Regions from separate parts of the Homo sapiens genome. Here regions 2, 3 and 4 are each linked to region 1. The links are contacts of gene promoters, found by promoter capture Hi-C in blood cells and fetal thymus (Javierre and others, 2016). All regions are on one chromosome and are shown on one strand. Each heading gives the region's core, a stretch centred on a gene start or on the middle of the fragment in contact. The rest is flanking DNA. Distances are from core to core; before and after follow the strand shown.

The links. Contacts are between HindIII fragments. The CHiCAGO score rates a contact against its expected background, and 5 or more counts as called.
Region 2: a fragment that was not itself captured here is called in contact with the fragment with the promoter of DNAJA1 in region 1 in 1 of 17 cell types (total CD4 T cells); the score reaches 6.6 in total CD4 T cells.
Region 3: a contact is called between a fragment that was not itself captured here and the fragment with the promoter of DNAJA1 in region 1, in 1 of 17 cell types (M0 macrophages). The highest score is 6.2, in M0 macrophages.
Region 4: a contact is called between a fragment that was not itself captured here and the fragment with the promoter of DNAJA1 in region 1, in 2 of 17 cell types (M0 macrophages and naive B cells). The highest score is 13.2, in M0 macrophages.

What each region holds. Positions count from the first base shown.
Region 1 is chr9:33,024,002-33,026,522 of GRCh38, forward strand. It overlaps DNAJA1 (DnaJ heat shock protein family (Hsp40) member A1), which reads left to right and starts at 1,272. Exons shown (of 9, transcript NM_001539.4): 1 at 1,272-1,382; 2 at 2,474-2,521. The coding sequence starts at 2,484. It also overlaps a transcript of APTX not described here. RefSeq lists enhancers at 112-707, 1,030-1,324, 1,302-1,896, 1,853-1,922 and silencers at 1,183-1,332, 1,613-1,752. The HindIII fragment of the contact is 3,848 bases long and covers 1-2,221 here.
Region 2 is chr9:26,918,836-26,921,356 of GRCh38, forward strand. It overlaps PLAA (phospholipase A2 activating protein), which reads right to left. Exons shown (of 14, transcript NM_001031689.3): 8 at 1,392-1,549; 9 at 475-694. Among named protein-coding and RNA genes, the nearest start is that of PLAA, 27 kb to the right of the region's middle. The HindIII fragment of the contact is 4,870 bases long and covers 1-2,521 here.
Region 3 is chr9:27,561,018-27,563,538 of GRCh38, forward strand. C9orf72 (C9orf72-SMCR8 complex subunit) reads right to left here. Exons shown (of 11, transcript NM_018325.5): 4 at 1,364-1,459; 5 at 568-632. Among named protein-coding and RNA genes, the nearest start is that of C9orf72, 11 kb to the right of the region's middle. The HindIII fragment of the contact is 8,318 bases long and covers 1-2,521 here.
Region 4 is chr9:27,581,985-27,584,505 of GRCh38, forward strand. No RefSeq gene overlaps it. Among named protein-coding and RNA genes, the nearest start is that of C9orf72, 9.8 kb to the left of the region's middle. The HindIII fragment of the contact is 782 bases long and covers 871-1,652 here.

The DNA.
Region 1 (2,521 bases), core at 22-2,521:
ATTTTCAAAACTCAGCTCAATTGCCACTTTCCCAAAGAAATTCTCTCTGATCTATCAGGTTAATATAGGAGGCTCTCCCCTACTGACTTCTACCTCATGGTTTCTCTGGCAGTCTGTTGACTTGTTTGGCTTCTCACTAAAGTCTAACTGGGGCTTTTCAACTCTGCATCTCCAGTTCTGTTTTTGTTTTAAATCGAGACGGGGTTTCACCATGTTGCTTGGGCTGGTATCAAACTTCTGAGCTCACGCAATCAGCCCACGCTGGCGTCCCAAAGTGCTGGGATTACACACGTGAGCCACCGAGCGTGGCAAACTCCATCTTTCTTGGTGCTAGATACTGACATACCTGCTGTGTCCCTGGATAAAGAAGCGGACCCCAATTCCCATTAAGCCCCCGTGGTACCATTTTCAAGTCCGAGGTCTTACGTTGCAGATTGTACATCCAGGTTCCCTGACCCGTAGGATTTAAAAGTGAGGTCAAATAATTAAACAAATTGTTTTAGTCAGACACTCTTGCGGCTACTCTGTAGCCAAACTGGGTGAAAACCTGACCAGAGGAGTCCACGGCCCTCTGTACATCAAAGACGGTCCAAACGTCTCACTGTTTAGCTCAGTCCCAGACACACTGAGCTCAATCTGCACGAATCAGCGAGGTCCAGGGCAGATAACATGTGTCTAGGGGCCTGGACTTGCACAAAAAGCCTTAACAACTTCACAATTTGATTAATTATGCCGCCTTGGACCACGCGTGAAAAACAGCAAGACCCAAGGCCTATGCTATTGGTCTGGGGACTAGACCCACCTGGCTCAAGCATTTTTTGCTCGCCACGTTCCCAAAAAGAGAAGAGGCGCCCGTAAGAGGGGGGGGGGGGGGGGCAAGACTGTTCCAAGAGCTTTCCCGTTCACACACAGCTCCCGCTGGGTCACTGTACTCGAGCCCTTCCCGCCCTCGCGGGCCCAGGCGGCCACCCCACAGGTTTGGGAACCCTAGGACTTGCAGTGCTCCTGGGCCATGCCCCACCAGCCGGAGACTTCCGCACTCTCAGGCTCGCTGAGTGGAGAAAAGGGCTCCAGAAGATTCCACGAGCGCCGGGAAGCCGCGCTAGCACCAACACCCACAAGGCCTTTCGGCGCAGCTCCTCCCGACCCGTGCGCCCCCGCGCCGTTGCCCAGGTAACGGCGGGGCGGTGGCAGCGGCCGAGAAGGGCGGGACTTCCGGCGGGTGACGCGCCCGGGTTCGGCTACAAAAGAGGACGGCTGCGGCGCGCCGGGCGGAACTTTCCAGAACGCTCGGTGAGAGGCGGAGGAGCGGTAACTACCCCGGCTGCGCACAGCTCGGCGCTCCTTCCCGCTCCCTCACACACCGGCCTCAGCCCGCACCGGTGAGTTTGAGCCCTCGCGCTGCCCCTAGTCCCCTGGCTGGCGCCATTGGCGCCGGGAAACCGATGGAGCCGCGGTCGGGAGGCAGTTGGCCGCGTGGGTAGGACCGCTGTCAGTTCCTGGGCCCACGATTTCCCTTTTGGAGGGCTGGTGTGGTGCCCTGGCAACCCATCCCCGGCACGCACAGTGAATGGGCCCGAGACCTTTCCTAGACCTCCCTCCTTCCCCAGCCTGGGATCTCCAAGGAGCTACTGTCTTCGGCTGCCCCTCCGTGCGCGCCCCCGCGGCCCCCCTCCCCGTCCGTGCTCGCTCGGGGTGGGGGGGGGGAGTGGGGTTGGCGACCCTGCGCACGCGCACAGGGAGGCAGGGGCGAGGGGCTGCGGGGGGAGCCGGGCGGAGACTGCGGCTTTTGGTTTCGCTTTCTCTGTTTCCCCTCCCTTTGTTTGTTGAGGGCTGGGCTTTCCCCACCGCCACTTGGGTCCAGGGTGGGAGGGAGAAAGGAAGGAAATCGGTCAGCGCCAAGTGCAAGGGGAAACCTGGCAGGTAAACTCTGCCAGCCTGAGGGGCGAGAGGGATTCGGCTGGAGAAGCTGTAAGCCGTGGGCGGTGGAGGGCTTGCTGTGTGGAGCCAGTAACCTGTTCTATAAACCACTCCCCCCCACCACTGTGTGCCCAGACGTCTTTTTCTGGAGAGTATATGGAGTTTATCAGATTTGCCAAAGACAGTGATAGTGTAATGACCGGTAGACTGAACATATCAGTGCTTCTTTTGGTTACAACTGTCACCGCCTCTAGGGCAAACGGGAAGAATCCAGATAATAGTTGTGTTATATTAGTATGGAAGCTTTGGTGTAGGAAAATTGGAACCAGCTGCTAGAAGGCGGCTCTCAGATTATTTCCCGATAATGATTATTTGTTTTGTCTGTTCGAGTTTATAGCTGAATTATCGCAGGAATTGTTACCTTTTTGGTGAAATTTAGGGAAGGTGGTGTTCTTATAATCGGATTTTGCAAAGAGATTGCTCGGCCTTAGCTCTCTTTTTTATTAAAAGCTACCAGTTGAAAGCCGGTTAAAGTTGCATTTTCTTATTTCAGGCAGTAGAAGATGGTGAAAGAAACAACTTACTACGATGTTTTGGGGGT
Region 2 (2,521 bases), core at 10-2,509, 6.1 Mb before region 1:
TGCATTTATAACATGAGATACGATGTATACGATGTTACAAACAATTAACTTAAAATGAACGTGTAGAATACACATCACATATAAACTAAAACTACCCATAGGGTTCACTTTTAGATTTGATGCATGACTGACCAATTTAGCCTCATGTGAAAAAAAGATTTACTAAATTTTGCCAAAATATAATTTTTTAAAAGAAACACTATATAAAAGAACTTACAAGTTTATTTTTGTTTCAAATAACTGAAATTCCATTATAGTATGATTGTATTTTTGAAAGACAACAATTTACTATTATTTCTGTAAAATACAGAATTACTTCATCATTTGAGGCTTAAACATATGAATGTGAAGTAAAACCCTGCTGTAGATATTGGTATTTATTGAAAAAGCTAATCACATGACTATTTGAAAACATCAAAAAAATCAATCAACACTAATGGAACTACATAAGACTCAATATAAACACTAACTTACCTGTAAATGGATCTGAAAAGCTGGGATTCCCAAGTCCCAACATTTGACCTTTTGTGTTATCAATAATAAATTTAGCTACTTGATCCAGAAACATAGGATTCAAATCATTCTTCTGTAAGAAGTTGTATGCAGTTAACCAAGGGTCATCACTGGTATTATATGGCAATTTATATGATGGTCCACCTTCATTGACATCAATTGAGAAAACATAATCAAATTCCTAAAGTAGGAATATAAAAAGGAGATACATGCTTATTATCTGTTCACATATATTAATGACATATACAACATAACACAGATGTGTTCTTTAATAATTACAGTACTTAAACTTTCTCCAAAGTGCAGTGCTAAAATCTTCGTTTTTGGCAGATAAAGATTAACAGCCCCCATCTGCATGTGATGCAAAATTAGTATTTCATTAGGGGATGGGGGTGAGGATGAAGGATGGATTACAACTACATATTAACTCTAGAGCCAAAGCAGAGTTTCCAACTGGTTTGATATCAAGATCAAAATTATCAGCTGTTACTGTGCCCTACTCACCAAAACGTGCTGGCATTTTAAGCACTGCCCTGCAGGGTCTCTCATGTCTTGTCAAGTTAAATATAGCCAGGCATGAGGCATTTGATGAAAGGTGGCACAGAAGCTCCCAATCCAAAATGGCTGGGAACAGCTTTTGTATAGAAACTACTACATGACAGACAATTGCTAATTTGTCTCTCAAATGCAGCTCTCACTACATGGAAAGATACTTTTAAAATATCTATTTCAAGACAGGGAAAAAAAAGATTAGTTTCCCACAGTAATGGATTTTTAAATGTCAAAACAAAGGAAATTTTATCACTATGGGGCAAAGGAAACCTTTAATTTGCCTAATATTTAAGACAATAGTAATTAGAAAGTAGAAGTCGACATACTTTCCCTTCATATAAAACTTTTCCAGATGTTTGCTGATTAGCACCAGATGAGCCAACAACATCACCAATTTTTATCCACCTCCCTTCACTAACACTCCACTGATAGGCTTCGACTTTCTCCCCATCTCTGATTAGACGAGTCTGTCCTTCTCTAGTACCTTAAAATAAAAATTTTAAGAATCAAAGGTAGAATGGCAATGTAAAATTGAAAAACATTTAAATAGAAAATTCTTAACATTAAAATTTACACATAAGAGAATATGGATTTTGTTTCAAAATAAAATTGTATCAAATAAAAGATTTAAAAATGTGGCCAAAAGAAAATAACAGTTAAAAGGAAATATTATTAATCAAAGGAAGGTTAACAAAACGTGATTCTACTAGGAAGCAACTGGCCCATCAAAAATAAAACAAGTTTTATTAGTGAATATATCTTCCTAACACATTTCATTCCGTAAATGGCTCTCCATTAATCCAGTGGCTCAAACTGAAAAGTAGAAAAGCCTGATACCTTTCTCTCAACCCCATCGCTCCTTCGGCTACTTCTCAGCACCCCCTTCAGCTACTGCTATCAGCTCATTCTTTAAAATATATCTAGAAAACTGTCTCCTTAATATCTCCATCATCATCCCTTGGTCCAAGCCACCATCATTTCTCAGTTGGGTTGATTCAACGGCCTCTTTCCTGTACTCTTGGCCCCCGACAGTGTATATTCCACCCAGCAACTTCAGGAATTTTTTCAAAAGTTTAAGTAGGTCCTGACACTCTTCTGCTTGAAACCCATCAATGCTTTTCATCTCACTTGGTAAAAGCCTAAACTCTTGAGTAGTGTACAAGACCAAATATAAATTGTCCACACTATCCTACATGACCTTACTTTCTACTATTCCCCCTGTCCCCTCATCTCCCAACTTCAGCCACAGAGCCTTTGTATTAGCTGTTTATTCTGCCTATGATGCTCTTCACACAGATATTGGCAGTATTTGCTCCTTTCCCTCTTTAACAACTTTACACAAATGTCATGTTCTCAACAAGGCCTTCAGTGGCGGAGACAGCTATCCATCCTCCGAAGAATCATGCTCTTCTTCCATTAGATACAGCTGTAGTTGTCTAGCCAGAGACTACATTAT
Region 3 (2,521 bases), core at 16-2,515, 5.5 Mb before region 1:
ATTATTTATCTTACTCAATGCTTATAACAACCCTACACATTAGGTACTATTACTATTATTGCCATTTTACAGATGAGGAAATAGGTGTATAGAGAATTCAGGCACCTTGCCCACGGGTACACAGCATTAATCCAGGGAGTCTGGTTTAAGGGCACAAACTCTTAAGTACTAAACTCCACTGCTGGATGGAAAAAGATCAGTATAAATATGAATAATTTTGTTCTACGCCTAAATAACTTAAGTTCATCTACAGTACAACTTAATATGAAAGGATTCTGTTAGCTTTAATGAGAAGTAAAACAAGAAACCAGAATCAAGCAAGGGGCCATGATTTCTTGTCTGGGATGGAAACTCGGTTTCTTTAAATAGCAAATGGAATAACACCAAATATATATAGAAATATAATGAGTGAAAAATAACACAAATTTAAGCAACAGTTCAAATACGTAATGTCCCTAGAACAATCTAAGTAGACAGTCTGTTATTTTCTTTCTTCCAAATCTTGTCATAGGTGAGCATAAGATGGTATCTGCTTCATCCAGCTTTTATGAAAAGAAAAATTCTTACTTGAGAAGAAAGCCTTCATGACAGCTGTCACCAATATCATCATCATTGAGTACTGTATCAGCTATCTAAAATGCATCAAAAAATAAAAAAATTAGTCTGGCTGTAACATAGTGTTGAAATAACACTTTTAATATACAAGTTTTCGGAAGTCTGGATTCAATATAACACACTGCCTTCATTTCCGAGAATCAAGACTCCCCAAAAAACAATCTCTGTGCACTACCATAAACTTCAGAAGAACAAATGTGAAAGCTGGTCAAGCAGGTTAAACAATTTTTACAAGAACAACTTCCTCTTCTGAGCTGTCAGAATCAGGAGACTAACCTAAATGACAAAATCAGAAAACAACAAGAATAGTTTCCTAAAGGTATCTCTTAACACTCATAGTGTGTGATTCAAAACGTCCTCAACAAATGATTAAGGAAACTAAATTTGTGACTACAAGTAAACTTCCATTAATGGTTACTACTTTGGCACACAGTTTTGTTTCAAAAGACACTACATTAAATATTAATTGCTCCTATAAGAGCTGGGATCCTCCCACTTTTAGGAATTATAAAAGTAATGAAATAAACAAAATGAATTTAATTTTGTCATCACTGATCAAAAATGCCTCTGTTTTGCCATAAAATCCAGGATTTTGTGTGTGCTTATTTGCTAAAGTGGCTAATACTGTATGTGAATAGTATGTATGACAAAGTCCTTACTATTAAAATTAGAATATTAATAATATACATAATAATACTATAACCCCAAAAAACTCATAAAGTGTATAATTGCTCTCATTTAAACTTACATCTATTTCTTCAGGAACACTGTGTGATTTCATAGATGAAAGCAGTTCCATTACAGGAATCACTTCTCCAGTAAGCATTGGAATAATACTCTGACCCTGCACAATAAAGTGACATGAAGTGAAGAAAATCACGTAATATGAGAGAAGCTGGGCAATAAAAAATAAAAATAACATCAAACAATAACATTCTTTGATGAAAATACTTCGTAATTTGTTCAAACACAGTATCAAACAAGTCTACTACATGTCTAAAGGATTTATATGCAATCCAAAGCTCACTTTTATTCTTTCTTTTCTTTTTTTTTTTTTGAGATGGAGTTTTGCTTTCATTGCTCAGGCTGGAGTGCAATGGCGTGATCTCAGCTCACTGCAACCTCTCCTCCCAGGTTCAAGTGACTCTCCTGTCTCATCCTCCCAAGTAGCTGGGACTATAGGTGCCGCCACCATGCCCGGCTGATTTTTGTATTTTTAGTAGAGACGGGGTTTCGCCATGTTGGCCAGGTTGGTGTCAAATTTCTGACCATGCCCGGCCCTAAAGCTCACTTTTATTCTTTAGAGAGTATGGAATCATTGGTTTATCGTTTACTGTTACATGCAATGATTAAGTCATCATGCCTCTTTTAGAAAAGATCTCCTTTAAAATTTGAGATAAAAAAAATTTGTTAAAGGTCATCAATATATTTCATATTTAAAAATGAGGAAAACCAAGCACAAAAAGACTTTGAAATCCTTACCAAATAGGTAAGGAAAACTTGAATCAATACCTAACCTCCATACTCATAAAAGTATAATCTACCCAAATGCAAATCAAAATCAGCACATATATTTTAAGAATCAATAAAACAGAAAAATTCCCTTTAGAGCTATTTCAAGATATTACTACTTATTACATCTTGAAATTGTAATTTTGAAATTTGTAGTCTATAGAATCAAACTGAAAATTCAGTATAACACATCACAAATGTAAAGTGTCTCAAATATGGATGGTCCCTCATTTATTCACTACCACCACCAGTCTCATCAGTTTTGTGACCAACTTGGTTAAGTAAATTTTTTGAGATATAAATGAAATTGTCAAATGACTATGCATTTTTAGCTAAACATATTTTTTAAATCATACATTATTTAAGATGAATTTAATACTAGTTGTTTTTCCTC
Region 4 (2,521 bases), core at 12-2,511, 5.4 Mb before region 1:
GAGAGGAAGTTCCTAGTTCATTGCAGCCTCAGAAAACACAGAAGAAAGAGAACAAGAAGTAGGAAGATGAGCACGATCTTCTTAAATTTTAGAGAAGACCACTAGCTTATAGAGGAAGAGAGAATTTGAACTAGTACCTTGATAGGTTGGTCATAATTTGATGGAATTTAGATGGAAAGAACAGTGCACAATGATGGTTTTGTTACTGACCTACCATATGCCTGAGTAGTGGGGGACTAGTAGCAGATGAGCCTCAGCACTCTCACAGCAATGGCTCCCCTTCTAGACATACTTCCCAAATCCACTTCAGAATGGTTCCCTGAGCAACTGGCCTAGCTTTACCCCTCTACTTGCAGCTTTCAGCATTATTTTGCATGTATAGTTGTATTTTATTGTAGTTACTGGTATAGTGCTTTGTAAGTAGTTTCTTTAGTTATTTCATGTATGATATGGAAAACTGCTTCTCAACTATGTCACATGCTATTTGAGACCCTGGACTGTAGGCTGACAGTTTATTTGTTAACTCCTTTATTGTTAGCTCATATCAGATGATTAGCAAATGCCACGTAGCTGATTGAAACTTCACTCCAACTACCCAGAATTATTATCCTTGAGTCAGGCTAGTTTTATATATTCATGATGTATTTGGAAACCTTACTAAATATTCTTATTGGTTGTAAATTTAAAAACCACAAACAAAACAAAACAAGAAAGCAACCAAAACACAAAAGAAACAAGTCCTAAACCAAAAAGTTACTAATCATTTCACTCTCATGTTCTTCACCTTTCAGGGGCTTCCCATTTTCTATATGTCAAGGTCCTTGGCATGACTCTCTAGTTTTTCCACAATCTGGCTCCACTTGACTTTCAAGCTTCTCTCTTACCGCCCTTTCCCTTTGATCTTGCAGACGCATGACTGTTTACTGCTCTGTAACCTCTCATATAATTCTCTCTGCCTGAAATGTCCTCACCTCTCCATTTTGTGTGAGCAAACCTTATTAACTGCAGCCATATGCTGCCTCCTCCATGAAGTCTTCCTGGATTTTCCCAGTTTGAATAATTCCATTGTGCACCTTTAACCTCCACTAGTAATACAAAAACCAAACTCTTTGTATTTACATTTTACATTTTGGGGGCAAATAATGGTAATATAATATTAATAGAACTAATAATTTGAAACTATTAGAGTTGTTTGCAGTGACACAATAGGGTTTAATGGCATGAGTTTTGGAGTCAAACCAACCTAGTCTTGAATTCTGGCTCAATCACTTTGCATCCTTGGGGGAGTTACTTAACATTTTTGAGCCTCAATTTCCTCCTCTTGAAAATGGAATTGCTTTGAGGATTAAATGAGGTTACCATCATAAAGGGTTTATCTTGATACCTGCCCCATGGTAATTGCTCAGTAAGTTTAGCTACTATTATCACATGGTAGACGCTCAATTTGTGTTTGTTAATAAATGTATTCCCAACCCCTAGTTTATAGATGAAGAGATTGAAAGGGAAAGGGAAAGAGATTTACTCGAGGTGACACCTTTAGTTTGGGGCAGATCTGTAACTAACACTTTCATATGCCAGCAACCAGGTAAGAGCTTTTTTTTTTTTTAAATCAACATAAGGTGTGTATACGTCTTTCTCATCACTAGACTGAAAGCTTCCGGAGGGCAGGGAACTTGTCTGATTCACTTTCGTCTGCGCTTTTCCTCTAAGCACAGTAATTGCCTATGTTTTAGGTCTTTAATAAATGTTGGATGTAATTTAATTTAAGAAAGTTCCCATTAGAAACAAAGAAAGTTCCCATTAGAAACAAGAATAAATAAAATGTATTTAATCAATGTGTAGATTAAAATTTCACTAAGCTCTAAATATGGCACACAATCAAGTGATGTTAATAAAGAAAAGCTTAATTTGAACATTATTGCATTTTTAGGTGACAAAACAACAGGCCACTTCATCATCAAGATTTCTAGAAAGAGCAGTTATTTCATACATTGCCAAGCAAAAAGAATAAGAGATTCAAACACATATTTTTAACCTGCAGTTGCACCCACGGCATTTAACATCAGTTTAAAATTTGAATACAAACAAATATAAAGTATTGCCTTTACAGAAGTAATGGAATTTGACAAGTTATTATCGTGAAGGATTAATTAGTACCCTGTGAGAACAAAACTGAGTCACAGGTAGTAAGTCTGCTTACAAAAACCTAAGAAGGGATGGATTGTCATGTTATTGTTTTTCATCTCAAATATGTAGAGAGATAGTCACCTTAAATAGCTTGCCTGGGAAATTACAGAATGTCTATTTTGTCCTATTTAAGATTGTGCAAAGTTTCACATAAATTATAGACACAGAGACATGCACAAATAATTTAGTACAGAACAACAAACTAGATGGATAAATAGGAGGTTATTACTTTCAAATTATAGTATTAACTCCCTCAAAATTTATTTTCTTACTTGGAAATGATTTGTTTGCCTGTCCATATTCCATGTGCAGGATATAAAAAGGAAATAGTGCT